Linked DNA regions of Homo sapiens: all the other regions are linked to region 1. The links are contacts of gene promoters, found by promoter capture Hi-C in blood cells and fetal thymus (Javierre and others, 2016). All regions are on one chromosome and are shown on one strand. The core of a region is centred on a gene start or on the middle of the fragment in contact, and the rest is flanking DNA. Distances in the headings are between cores, read along the strand shown. Region 1 holds the start of ADCY4 (adenylate cyclase 4). Region 2 overlaps DCAF11 (DDB1 and CUL4 associated factor 11). Region 3 overlaps NRL (neural retina leucine zipper).

What was found. Contacts are between HindIII fragments. The CHiCAGO score rates a contact against its expected background, and 5 or more counts as called.
Region 2: a fragment that was not itself captured here is called in contact with the fragment with the promoter of ADCY4 in region 1 in 4 of 17 cell types (naive CD4 T cells, naive CD8 T cells, activated CD4 T cells and 1 more); the score reaches 5.5 in naive CD4 T cells.
Region 3: a fragment that was not itself captured here is called in contact with the fragment with the promoter of ADCY4 in region 1 in 1 of 17 cell types (activated CD4 T cells); the score reaches 6.8 in activated CD4 T cells.

What each region holds. Positions count from the first base shown.
Region 1 is chr14:24,332,457-24,336,548 of GRCh38, reverse strand. It overlaps ADCY4 (adenylate cyclase 4), which reads left to right and starts at 1,478. Exons shown (of 25, transcript NM_001198568.2): 1 at 1,478-2,055; 2 at 3,561-3,758; 3 at 3,866-4,027. The coding sequence starts at 1,897. It overlaps RIPK3 (receptor interacting serine/threonine kinase 3), which reads left to right. Exons shown (of 10, transcript NM_006871.4): 10 at 154-524. The coding sequence ends at 374. RefSeq lists silencers at 1,772-1,851, 1,922-2,081, 2,742-2,841. The HindIII fragment of the contact is 4,552 bases long and covers 390-4,092 here.
Region 2 is chr14:24,116,178-24,120,596 of GRCh38, reverse strand. DCAF11 (DDB1 and CUL4 associated factor 11) reads right to left here. Exons shown (of 15, transcript NM_025230.5): 3 at 3,553-3,680; 4 at 3,204-3,331; 5 at 2,865-2,929; 6 at 2,442-2,542; 7 at 2,063-2,209; 8 at 1,793-1,847; 9 at 1,384-1,452; 10 at 981-1,038; 11 at 701-886. Among named protein-coding and RNA genes, the nearest start is that of NRL, 3.4 kb to the right of the region's middle. The HindIII fragment of the contact is 3,232 bases long and covers 1-2,902 here.
Region 3 is chr14:24,086,774-24,090,660 of GRCh38, reverse strand. The region is part of intron 1 of NRL (neural retina leucine zipper); the gene reads left to right. Among named protein-coding and RNA genes, the nearest start is that of PCK2, 5.6 kb to the left of the region's middle. RefSeq lists enhancers at 197-246, 1,162-1,661. The HindIII fragment of the contact is 5,113 bases long and covers 1-3,887 here.

The sequences.
Region 1 (4,092 bases), core at 229-2,728:
AACACAATTCTGGAGAGGAGCTCTGAGGGGAGGAGCACAGGGCACACCTTGACACAGCCACTGACAAGTAGAGACTTCATACTCCCCACCCACCCCCAACTTGGCCTTTCTGACAGCTAAACCCTCCTGCCACCATCACTATTTCTCTTAAAGGGCGACCGCTCGTTAACATATACAACTGCTCTGGGGTGCAAGTTGGAGACAACAACTACTTGACTATGCAACAGACAACTGCCTTGCCCACATGGGGCTTGGCACCTTCGGGCAAGGGGAGGGGCTTGCAGCACCCCCCACCAGTAGGTTCGCAAGAAGGCCCTAAAGATCCTGAAGCCTGGAGCAGGCCACAGGGTTGGTATAATCATAGCGGGAAATAAAGCACCTTCCAAGCTTGCCTCCAAGAGTTACGAGTTAAGGAAGAGTGCCACCCCTTGAGGCCCCTGACTTCCTTCTAGGGCAGTCTGGCCTGCCCACAAACTGACTTTGTGACCTGTCCCCCAGGAGTCAATAAACATGATGGAATGCTAGTCAGTCTGAGCTCAGCCAGGGGCAGGGAGGGACTGGGATGGGGGTGGGAGCTGCCAGTGAGGGATAGGGAGGCACCACAGCTCTGCTATGGCAGGAAGTGGGGATGCTGGGGGCTGGGAGTGGGCAATGGCCTGGCACACAAGGTCAGGGCACAGCCGGCTACAACAGGAAGGAATCCTAGAGGCCTGGTTCCCCAGACCACTCTCTAATCTCAGGGCAGTGCTTCCTCTAAAGCCTAGGATGGCGACCCCACCCTAACCCTAAACTCTGGGGATAGAGGCTGTGGTCCCTTTTCTTCCGGGCTCTCAAGACTCACTTGCAGGGCTCTGGCGAGGGATGAGTTGATGTGAAAGATCACAGACCTGGCCCCGCACGGTGCCCCCAGGCTCTTAGAGATCATGACGCCACATACCTGCCTCCACCACACACTCAGGTTGCTTCCTGGACATTGCTTCCCTTTTGATTCCCAGTTGCTGTTCGGGAGTGGAAAGCTATGGCTCCTAAAGCTATACACAGGCGCAACCCCTCCCACGGAGCATGAACAGTTCAAACCCGGTGGTAGTGGTTGCCAGCCAAGCGGAGAGGTCAAGAGAATGAGCGCCCCCAACTCTGACCTAGATCCCCACCAGGACCCACATTCTTCCCTACATTCTCGCCAGGCTTCAGCCCCCCGCCCTCGGTCTCCCCACTACCAAACGTTCACCTCCATTTGGACACATCCCATTGGGTCCACCCCAGCCCACCCCTTCGCATCTCTCCCAGGGTCCACATTGCCCTTCCCTGAAGGGGCTGAAGCGGGGAGGCGATGGTGTTAGGAGAGACAAAACCAAGTGCGGGAGGAGACCAGGGGAGTCCGGCTTTGGCACAGGAAGGGGCCGGGCTGTCCCGTCGGGGAAGTGGGAGGGGGCCGCGGCGCCGGGAGGGAAGCGCCTGTCGCCCGGGACTCTGAGCCAGAGCGCAGCGGCGAGCGTGACTCCGCCATCAGGTCCCCGGCTCCCTCCCCGGACCTAGCCCACTCCGCTGCGCCAGCGCCGCGGGCAGTGAGTTCGGGGATCAGGGGAACCCGGGGCTCCCTCGCACCAACCCCAAATCCTGCCCTCCTGGCGATGAGGCTTTTCTAGGGCACCTCTACAATCCGGGTTTGAGGGAGGAGGAGGAAAGGACTGAGGGATCCCCTCATCGCCAGCTGGGAGCGGGCTGGGAGGCCGCAGGGAGGGCCTGAAAAAGGAGACGGGATTGCCACGAGGTTGGGGGCGCGGGGTGGTAGCGGCTTTGAGCGGGTGAGAAAAGCTCAGGTGGGGCCCGCCGGGCCGAAGGAGGTAACCCGGCGCCCGGCCCTAGCCAGCCCCGGGGCTCGGGGCTGGGGAGATCATGGCCCGCCTCTTCAGCCCCCGGCCGCCCCCCAGCGAAGACCTCTTCTACGAGACCTACTACAGCCTGAGCCAGCAGTACCCGCTGCTGCTGCTGCTGCTGGGGATCGTGCTCTGTGCGCTCGCGGCGCTGCTCGCAGTGGCCTGGGCCAGCGGCAGGGTGAGCCGAGCCTCTGCTGCGGGAGGGTCTCTACCTGGGGAGCATTTTCGGGGTTGGGGTTTGTGGGGTCTTCTTTTCGATGTGTTTTCGTTGCTGGGAGCAGAGAAAGAAAGGACCATTGAGCCTGGCTAGGAACTGCAGTGACCCTGGGCAAGTCACTCTACCCTTCTGGGTCTGCTCAGGGAGAAAGCTGAGTCCTGGATGCTTCTCGTTTCTGTCCGGGTTCTGACAGACTTTATGAACATCCGTGGTCTACGGGTTCTACAATAAATCCATCACCGGATTTTCCAGTTTTCCAAAGGGGAAATTCTAGGAGGCCCCTGGGGAATTCATTTCCTGCCTTTCTCTCCCTCTTAGGGGATGTAGAGCAGTTGTACCCACAGACTCCCAGAAGGCACCCTCCACCGGGCTCTCACTGAGTCCCAAAGTAAACCCATGTCCAGTTTCTGTTTGGGGAGGAAGAAGGTCTTCAATCCAATTCTAGAAATGGCCTGCCCCTGGTTTTCTTTTCACTGCTTGGAGGCAAGGTGGGAAAATCACCGGGCGCGGCCAATCCTTGCTGGTCCACGCCTAAATCCGGGAAGAGGTGGGGACAAAATGCTGGGACGGCTGTGCAGCTTCTGCTTGGAGTTGAGGCAGGTGGCGAGATCGCAGCCCTGGTGGCCAGGGAGGTGCGGGACGCCGCGGGTCCTGGCGCCCCCTGCTGCTCGAGCGCTGCCTCGCGCCGCCCTTCAAGCTGCCGGCCGCGGTCCCCGGCTCCGGGAATCTCCCGAGCAAATTGGCCAGATTTGGAGACATTCATTCCGAAGTGCCTCCTTGTGAGCTTGGATCTATCTTTCACTTGCTTCATGACGCTTTGGTTCCCGTTTGACAGATAAGAAAACTGAGGCTCAGAAACAAATAGGGGATGGGAGCCAGATCTTCTGGGTAGCTGTCCCAGCAAGATAATAGGTTGGACAACAGGAGGCTGGGCGCTGTGGCTCACGCCTGTAATCCCAGCACTTTGGGAGGCCAAGGCGGGAGATCGTTTGAGCCCAGGAGCTCGAGACCAGCCTGGGCAACTTGGCGAGACCCTGTCTTCTACTAAAAATACAAAAAAAAAAAAATTAGCTGGGCGTGGTGGCGGGAGCCTGTAATCCCAGCTACTCGGGAGGCTGAGGCATGAGAATCACTTGAACCCGGGAGGCAGAGGTTGCAGTAAGCCGAGATCGCGCCACTGAACTCCAGCCTGGGCGACAGAGCAAGACTCTGTCTCAAAAAACAAACCAACCAACCAACAAAAACCATACGAGACTGCTGAGTCTAGATAAAAGCAGTAGGACACAAGCAATTTCAAATGGTTCAACCTAAAGTGAATGGCAAGCGGAGGTGCCTTGCCTCCTTTTCGTACTTAGGCTTGAGACACCTTTCAGAACTGGGCTGAGGGGCTGGGCTGCTGGCTTTTCCTTTATCAGGTTCGTTCCTTCTCCCTGTCACAATCTTGCCTCACACACCCCTGCCCACAGGAGCTGACCTCAGACCCGAGCTTCCTGACCACTGTGCTGTGCGCGCTGGGCGGCTTCTCGCTGCTGCTGGGCCTCGCTTCCCGGGAGCAGCGACTGCAGCGCTGGACGCGTCCCCTGTCCGGCTTGGTATGGGTCGCGCTGCTAGCGCTAGGCCACGCCTTCCTGTTCACCGGGGGCGTGGTGAGCGCCTGGGACCAGGTGAGAGGGGCGGCAGGCGGGGCAGCGGGGACGGCCCGGGCTTCGATCCCTCACCAGGCCTTGAATAGCCCCACTTGGGCCTTCGGCTTCCCGCGCCCCGCCCCCAGGTGTCCTATTTTCTCTTCGTCATCTTCACGGCGTATGCCATGCTGCCCTTGGGCATGCGGGACGCCGCCGTCGCGGGCCTCGCCTCCTCACTCTCGCATCTGCTGGTCCTCGGGCTGTATCTTGGGCCACAGCCGGACTCACGGCCTGCACTGCTGCCGCAGGTGAGCACGCAAGTAGCACAGGCTGCGCTCAGGACGGCTCTGCCACGTGCTAGTAGGCTCCTTTT
Region 2 (4,419 bases), core at 37-2,536, 220 kb after region 1:
ATTTTTCTTTTTTTAATTTTTAATTAACTAATTTTTTTTTGAGATGGAGTCTTGCTCTGTCACCCAGGCTGGAGTGTAGTGGGGTGATCTCGGCTCACTGCAAGCTCCGCCTCCCGGGTTCACGCCATTCTCCTGCCTCAGCCTCTTGAGTAGATGGGACTACAGGCGACTGCCACCACACCCAGCTAATTTTTTTGTATGTTTAGTAGAGACGGGGTTTCACCATGTTAGCCAGGATGGTCTCGATCTCCTGACCTCGTGATCTGCCCGCCTCGGCCTCCCAAAGTGCTGGGATTACAGGCATGAGCCACGGCATCTGGCCTTAGTTTTTTTTTTTTGTTTTTTTTTTTAAATAAATAGAGATGAGGTCTCGCTAGGTTTCACAGGCTGGTCTGGAACGCCTGAGCTCAAGTGATCCTCCCACCTCAGCCTCCCAAAGTGCTAGGATTACAGGTGTGAGCCGCTGTACCTGACCGGTCTTCCATTTTTCTTGTACGGAAAGCCCTGCCCTGCTCCTTGAGGACTGGTGAGTACAGATGGAATTCATGTTCCCTGGCTTGAGCCCCTTCCCTAAACTCCAACTCTTACAAACCTTGGTTAATAAGGAGCTTGTCAAATTCCCACACCAGTCCGCTTTCATGCCCTCCTGGGCAACTAGAACCTTAGCGGCCTGGCTGTACAGTCCTGACTTCTGGCCCACCTTGCTGTCAATGAAGGTGATGCCATCCTGGTGTCCAGCCAGTGCACCCACAGGCTTGGGGTCATCCTCCCGCATGGTGCGTCGATCCCACACTTTGCAGATGGCATCATCTCCCCCAGAGAACAGGATTTGGGAGCTTATATCAGCAAAGGCCACTGCATTCACATCATCCTCATGGGACTCAATCTAGGCGAAAAGGAGGCCAGGATATAAGACCTCTTTCTAGGTCTTATAAAAAGCCAAAAACCAGGAGGCAGAGGCTCTATCTCAGGAGCCATACCTGAAGGGTGCGCCGGTTCTGTTCTCGGTCAAAGACATACAGGCAGCCATCATTGGCCCTGAAAGGGAAGGGATAAAGGAGGGTCCTGGAGCCATGATCGAGAGGACCAACGTGGTATATGCTCTAGAGAGTTCCACTGAGAAATCCTGCTCTGGGTCAAGCCCTTTGCTCTTTTTATACAGGAAGTGGGGGAAGAGTTAGCTGTGTTTCAAGGAGGCTTGACACCTCCAATCTCGTGCTGGGGAAATGGAGAGCAAGGGGTGAAGCAACTTGTAAATCCTGACCTTGGGAGAAGGTCTGGTTGTTCTCTGCAGCTGCCAGTGCCATCTGTGTAACAGCAGAACTCATCTCTGGCAGAACCCCCATCTTGTTATTGAGGGAAACATACCCCACAAGCACTTACCCTCCTAGTACTTCTCGTCCATCTGAGGAGACAGCAATGGAGAAGACAGCAAAGCGACGCTCATCTGGCCTAAAAGCAAGAAGGAGCTGGGTTAAGTGGACTTCCTTCAGCTTTTGTTAATCTACATAAAATCTGACAACGGTTGTAAGGCACATCCCCAGGGGAAAAAAGAAGTCTGGCTAACATGCACCATAATGCAGATGCTCAGTGAGAACCCAGAAATCATCCTGCAACCATCTATTTTACCCAGTCCTCTGGCTGACAAGATGGTGCTTCCCTCCCAGGAATGCACACAGACCCACCAGTATACTTTTTCCCCTAAACAGAACTTCCAACTCAAGAGGTTTGCTCCCAAAGAGCTTCCCTTGAGAAGTTTCTGATGAGTCTGACCAGAAAGGGAAGCCAGTACCTGAGATCCAGGGCAGTGTGTGTATCTCCCTCACCATAGATATTGCAGATATGAACTAAGAGAAGCAAGAAAAACAAGAATCTTTCAGGGATGGGGGAAGAAGAGTGGAAGTGAAGCTAGGGAAGAGATCAAACAGGGGACAAGGGTACTGGAGCACTTTGGGAGTGATTTTCCCAGGACAAAGTGAGGGATCCTGGCTCAGAGGGGACAGGCACATGGAAACCTCAGGTCCCAGGCTGGAGAGTCAGTGGAAGCCTGGTGCATACTCACTGTAATCAGACCAGCTAGAGTAGAGGAAGTGGTTCCCATCAGGGGTGAAGGCCACATCCAAGACGCTCCAGCCTACGTCGCGGGCCTTGATGCTCTTGAATTTACGGAAACGGCCATATCGGCAGTCATAGAGTCGGATTGTCTGGTCTGTGTAAGTAAAGATCAGGCAGAATTATGGGACAGTTTCCTTGTAACTTTTCTAGATTAGACATCTCCCACTCAGTGTACCTGTGGAGTCTTCCCTTTATCATGGGAAACATGGTCTGGCTAAGCATCCTTAAGCCAGGTCTGAGCTCCCCGTCTGTGGCTTTCTAGCCTCAGTCAGGGGGAATGTCCCATGTTCCAGGAAAAGATAGTTTATAGGACCAGGGTCTGGTACCTTGGCAAGCAGACATGAATATTTGACCATCTTTGCTGTAGATGCCACAGAAAGCCTTCTGAGAGTAGCTATCAGTGAAGCCCAGATCATTGGGCAAGAAGCTAGGGAAGGAGAGAGAAAGTGAGGGTGAGGGGTGCTCAGGATAAGGAGTGTCCCAATCAGCAGAATCCTAACAGAGCTGGAATATCAGAACAGTCATTCTTCCCTTTTGGCTGTGAGTGCAATCCCGTCTTTCAACCATTCCACCATCCTCTAAATTTCTACAATTTTCTACACTTTTCTACTTTGTTTACTCTCAAAGTTTCAACCCCATTTAACCTAACCTTTAATATCTCTGAGGCTCCTTTAACACCTACCCCTTCAAAGTTTAGGAGATAAGACCTATCTGGCCCTTAGAGTCTCTTCACCAAGCCCCATACTCACTGAGATATCACTCGAGACTGTTCTCCAAGGGAGAAGCTTCCCCGATGGCAGAGGCCCCGTTCTCTCTAAATGGAAGGGATTGGGGAATATTGCTAGCAGAAATAGAGGGCCACTTCAGCCATATCAAGCCCCCTCCTCCAAAGATATTGCTCTTGTTATAGAAATGGACACACACATCATAGTCTGTCCCACAGAACTCCGATGGAGGCTGGTTAACTCTCCAGCCCCAGCGCTTGAGGCTTCTACTTTGGAAAGTTGACTTCCTTTTTCTCTGGGGCTGGCAGAGCTTCTGGCTGCTTTGGCAGGCCTGCTGCCAGGCTGGGAGGTGGAGAGGCCTACCTGGTGCAACATTCGAGGAAAGCTGTGCTTCTGGGCGGCCCGCCTAAGCCCCAGCTGCCCTGTGGCCAGTTCCACTTGTGTCTTGATCTCATTGAATTCCAGCTCCCGGGTGTCAGGGGTAGCATCCACTGTGAGTACCAAGGAGAAGTTTCATCCTAGGTCTGCCAGCCTCAGAGGACAGTTAGCAGAACTGTACCCAAGCCCACCCCTGTGGCTGAATATACTGGGGCTGTAAGGACTCCTTATTCCTTAAATTATCGTACCTTCTTTCAATGTAACCTATCATTCAAAATATCACTAAAAGGTTTTCTAGTAAAAGTCTTCCAACATTAGGGGCTTTTCCTCTTACCAGGTGGGTTGTATCGATCCCCAAGACGACCATCCCAAGCTCTGTCATTCTCTTCCTCTGAGTCCAAGAGGGCCTGAATGAATTGTAAATTTGCTGCACCTCCTCCCTGCACCAACCTCACTTGGCCTCTGTGGAGAGACCCCCATTATAAAGGAGGGGACTTCTTCCCCCAAACCAACCAAATTCAGAGTCAATGGCTATCTAGCTCTTAGACCACTTGGTACTCATTTTGAGGTTTGAGGCTGACTAGACCTTGGCTGTTATTTTTGGTCTCCTATAAAACACAGTAGGAAAGAGAGTTTTACTCTTACAGCAAGAGCAAGACCAACATGCTGTGGACGTGACCTACTAAGTTGACCTCCCAGCGAGCTAAACATTCTAACATCATTTCCTTAGAACAAGAGCAAGACCAATACGCTGTGGACATGACCTACTAAGTTGACCTCCCAACAAGCTAAACATCCTCACAGCATTTCCTTCTGAGCCTCTGCCTGAGAAGTCCACCACAGAAGACAATATTCTAAGCTGGGTGCGGTGGTGTGTGCAACTGTAGTCTTAGCTACCTGGGAGGCAAGGATTGCTTGAGCCCAGGAGTTGCAGGCTGTGGTGTGCACTTGATCACACCTGTGAATAGCCCGTTCTCCAGACTGGGGAACACAGTGAGCCCTGTCTATGTCTACTAAAAACAACACAAAACACAAACAAAAAAGAATACAATATTCTGAAGGGACCCCCAAACCCATCTTCTCCTCAAAGAGCCATAAGCAAAGAAAGAAAGCCAGCTGCACCCTTTTCCAGTCAATTCCAGGTGGTCTCTCCCTTCAAGGCATTCTTTCCTCAAGAACAGGTTAGAGTCAGGGCAAATTA
Region 3 (3,887 bases), core at 415-2,914, 250 kb after region 1:
CATCCCTGAAGTCTCACAGCCCGAGTAGTGATGCTGTGGTGTGTAGCCCAGATTCCCGCTTCAGGATCATGATGCTCATTGTTCCAGCTGCTGAGTGTTGGCTGCTGATAGCTCACAGCTGAGTACTTCCTTGAGCACTATCTGTGGCCAAAGGGAGCTGTCTCACCAAATGCAATGCCCGCTTCCTGGGGGCAGTATGTATCCAATGAATGGTTGTTATAAAGTACAGAGGCCTAGCCCTTTGTCTCAGTTTGGGACAACTCTGAAGGTCCATCCCAGCCCCAGAGCTCTTTAGGCTCAGCTGATTACAACTGCAGTGCCATTCAACTGTTCCCTCTCTTGGGTCCTGCTACTCTTTCTTTGAAAGTCCCCCCCCGTGCCCCCCCCCCCCCCCCGAGTAAACCACCTGCACACAAGTTTCTGTCTCAGAGTGTGCTTCCAGTTGCAAATATTCCTCAGGCTCAACTTGGTTACGGCATTAGTCCTCTAATCTGACTCTTATTTCATTGTTGCCTTCCTCCACAAACACAAAGTGCTGACATACGTGATCCTTCCGAACACAAATCTGATCACATCATGTCTCTACTGAAAACCCTTCAGTAGCTTCTCCCTGCTCTTAGAATAAAGCCCAAACCCTTAATGTGACCTCCCAGGCTCTGCATGATCTGGCCCCTGCTGACTTCTCCAGCCTCAGCTATCACTGTTCTTCCCACCTTCCAGGCTTTCTACTCTCTGGCTACGTGGATCTTTTCTCAGTTTTGTGAACATGTCTACATCTTTCCTGCCTCACAACCTTTGCATATGTTGTTTCTGCCGCCTGGAATTCCCACCCTGTCCACACCTCCAGGCAGGGTCACTTCTTATTCACCTGACCAGTCTTGGTTTAGCATGACTTTCTTAGGCAACCTGTCCCTGTGATGCATCCCCTCTGGCTTTGTATTAGAGTATGTCTTCGTGGAAGAAAATTTCATAGCACCCTGCCCTTCTTCTTCTTAGCACATTCATCTCTGTTTAAATGGTTTGTTTTTATGTAGACACATCTCTAACATATGTAGGACCTGCGGCAGGAGTACAAATAGAGGCCCTCAAACCTTGTGTTTAAATATTTAAAATGGGCTGGGTGTGGTGGCTCATGCCTTGTAATCCCAGCACTTTGGGAGGCAGAGGCTGGAGGATCACTTGAGCCCAGGAGTTTAAGACCAGCCTGAACAACATAGTGAGACTTCTTCTCTACAAAAAATAAAAAAGTAGCCAGGCATGGTGGTGTGCACCTGTAGTCCCAACTGCTTGGGAGACTAAAGTGGGAGATAGCTTGAGCCCAGGAGTTCAAGGCTGCAGTGAGCTATGATTGCACCACTGCACTCCAGCCTGGGTAACAGAGCGAGACCCTGTCTCAAAAAAAAAAGATTAAAATGTATAACTCAGGGTCGGCGCAGTGGCTCATGCCTATAACCCCAGCGCTTTGGGAGGCTGAGGCGGGTGGATCATTTGAGGTCAGGAGTTCAAGACCAGCCTGGCCAACATGAAACCCTGTCTCTACTAAAAATACAAAAATTAGGCCAGGCGCAGTGGCTCACGCCTGTAATCCCAGCACTTTGGGAGGCCGAGGCGGGCGGATCACGAGGTCAGGAGATCGAGACCATCTTGGCTAACCCAGTGAAACCCCATCTCTACTAAAAATACAAAAAAAAAATTAGCCAGGCATGGTGGCGGGTGCCTGTAGTTCCAGCCGGAGTCTGAGGCAGGAGAATGGCATGAACCTGGGAGGCGGAGCTTGCCGTCAGCCAAGATCGCGCCACTGCCCTCCAGCCTGGGGGACAGAGCAAGACTCTGTGAAAAAAAAAAAAAAAAAAAAAATTAGCCAGGCATGGTGGTGCATGTCTGCTACTTGATAGGCTGAGCCAGGAGAATCACTTGAACCCAGGAGACAGAGGTTGCAGTAAGCCGAGATCACACCACTGCACTCCAGCCAGGGCGACAGAGCTATCTCAAAAAAAAAAAAAAAAAAGTATAATTCAGGCTAACAAACTGTTACACAAAATATATTCTGTTCTTCTACCTTGACAAATATATTGACAAATACATACTTCACAATGGCCTGGAAGGCCAGGTTCAGATTTGTATTTTATTTGGAATCCTCAGGGTTCTGCACCAGAATGTGATGGTGTAGGGGGATGTAGTTTTGGCCACTGGCCCTCAGCTGGGCCCACTTTGCCTCCTACCCCTGACACCATCTTGGACTGCAAGGGGCCTTGTGTGGAACCATGTGGACCTCCCATCAGGCCATCCCAAGTCTGTCCACAGTCTCCTGCAAGCAGCTACCCCTTGTCTACCCTTTGACCTCAGAATGTGTGAACCAGTCATGTGGCCCAGCCGTGGGAGGGCAAACCCAGGGAAGAGGTTCACGTGGGCCCTAGGAGTGGGCTTGGGCCTTTTGGACAGGGAATGCTTAGCTATCTGGAGTGTGGTCCTGAGAGGATTAAGGTATGGGCAGAGGATAGTTGGACTCCTCACCCATGTGGTGGGACATAGCCAGAGGAGGCCAGAGTGGAGCCTTCTAAAGCACAGGGCCCAGGGCAGGGGCCACTCCTGCCTGGGCCTAAGGACAATAATTTATTTATTATTTTTTTTTTGAGACAGGGTTTCTTTCTGTCTCCAAAGCTAGAGTGCAGTGGCACCATCATGGCCCACTGCACCCTCATCCTCCCCAGGCTCCTGATCCTCCCACCTCAGTTTTTGTATTTTTAGTAGAGACAGGGTTTTGCCATGTTGCCCAGGCTGGTGTCGAACTTCTGGGCTCAAGCGATCCACCCATCTTGGCCTTCCAAAGTGCTAGGATTACAGGCATGAGCCTCTGCACCCAGCCAAAGGGCAATAATTTGATGTTTCTCTGTTTCATCAGTCTGTAAGTTTCTTGAAGTCAGGGCTGGTATTAGTGTAAGTTACTGAGGGGTCGCTAATGCCTTACTCAGGATGTGGTGCAGAATAGGTGTTTAATATGCATTTTTCAAAAGAATGTAGGAGGTACACCAAGAAGAGGTTGAGGATTTGGATCTATTACTGAAGATCTAGATACCATGAGCCAGAAGTAGGAATGAGAACCAGTCTTTCAGGGTTCCAAAAATGAGAGTGCAGGACAGAGGAGAGGAGGTAGCATCCTGGAATGCTGACTGTCTCATTTTCTCTCCTTCCTCTTCATTTTCTACCCCACTCCTGCAGGCCCTTTGCCTGCCTGCCCCTCTTTCCCCATGGTCCAATATCACTCCATCCATATCTTGCTACCTTTCTGTCCTTTGGCCACTGCTCTTCCTCTGTGGCCTATGTGTCTATTTCTTTGTATTGGTGTCTAGGTCTTGGTCCCCAATCTTATGTCCTGTCCCTTCCTTCTACCACTCTTACTGTTCTAGTCCTTGTTGTCCCCTACTCCCTTCTTGGTCCTCTCCTGGAAGACTTCCTTTCTTTATCCATCTCGTCCATGTGCCTACATCTTTCTGTCTCCTTTAATCCAAATCCCCATGGAGACCCTGACTTGTCCTGTCCTCTATCTCACATCTACACCTACTGCCTCCTTAGTCTCCTTCCTCTGTTCTATTATTCCTGGAGTCACACTGGCTTCATCTTTTTCATCCCTAGATGTCCTTGAGCCCATTAGTCTCAGTATTCATTTCTCAGTCTCCAGTGGATATGGGAGATGGGCTCTGCTTTCTGGGTCCCCACTGACTGCCACAGACTCTCCTCTCTGTGCCCTTGGTCCTTTCCTCTGGCCCAGACTGGGCCCAACCCTCACTCCCCCAGCTCCTTTCCCTGGTTTAGTGGTGCCTGGTCTGAGCCCCAAGCAGCTCAACTCGCCTGAGCTTGTTTAGTCTGACTCCCTTAGCCCGTTAGCA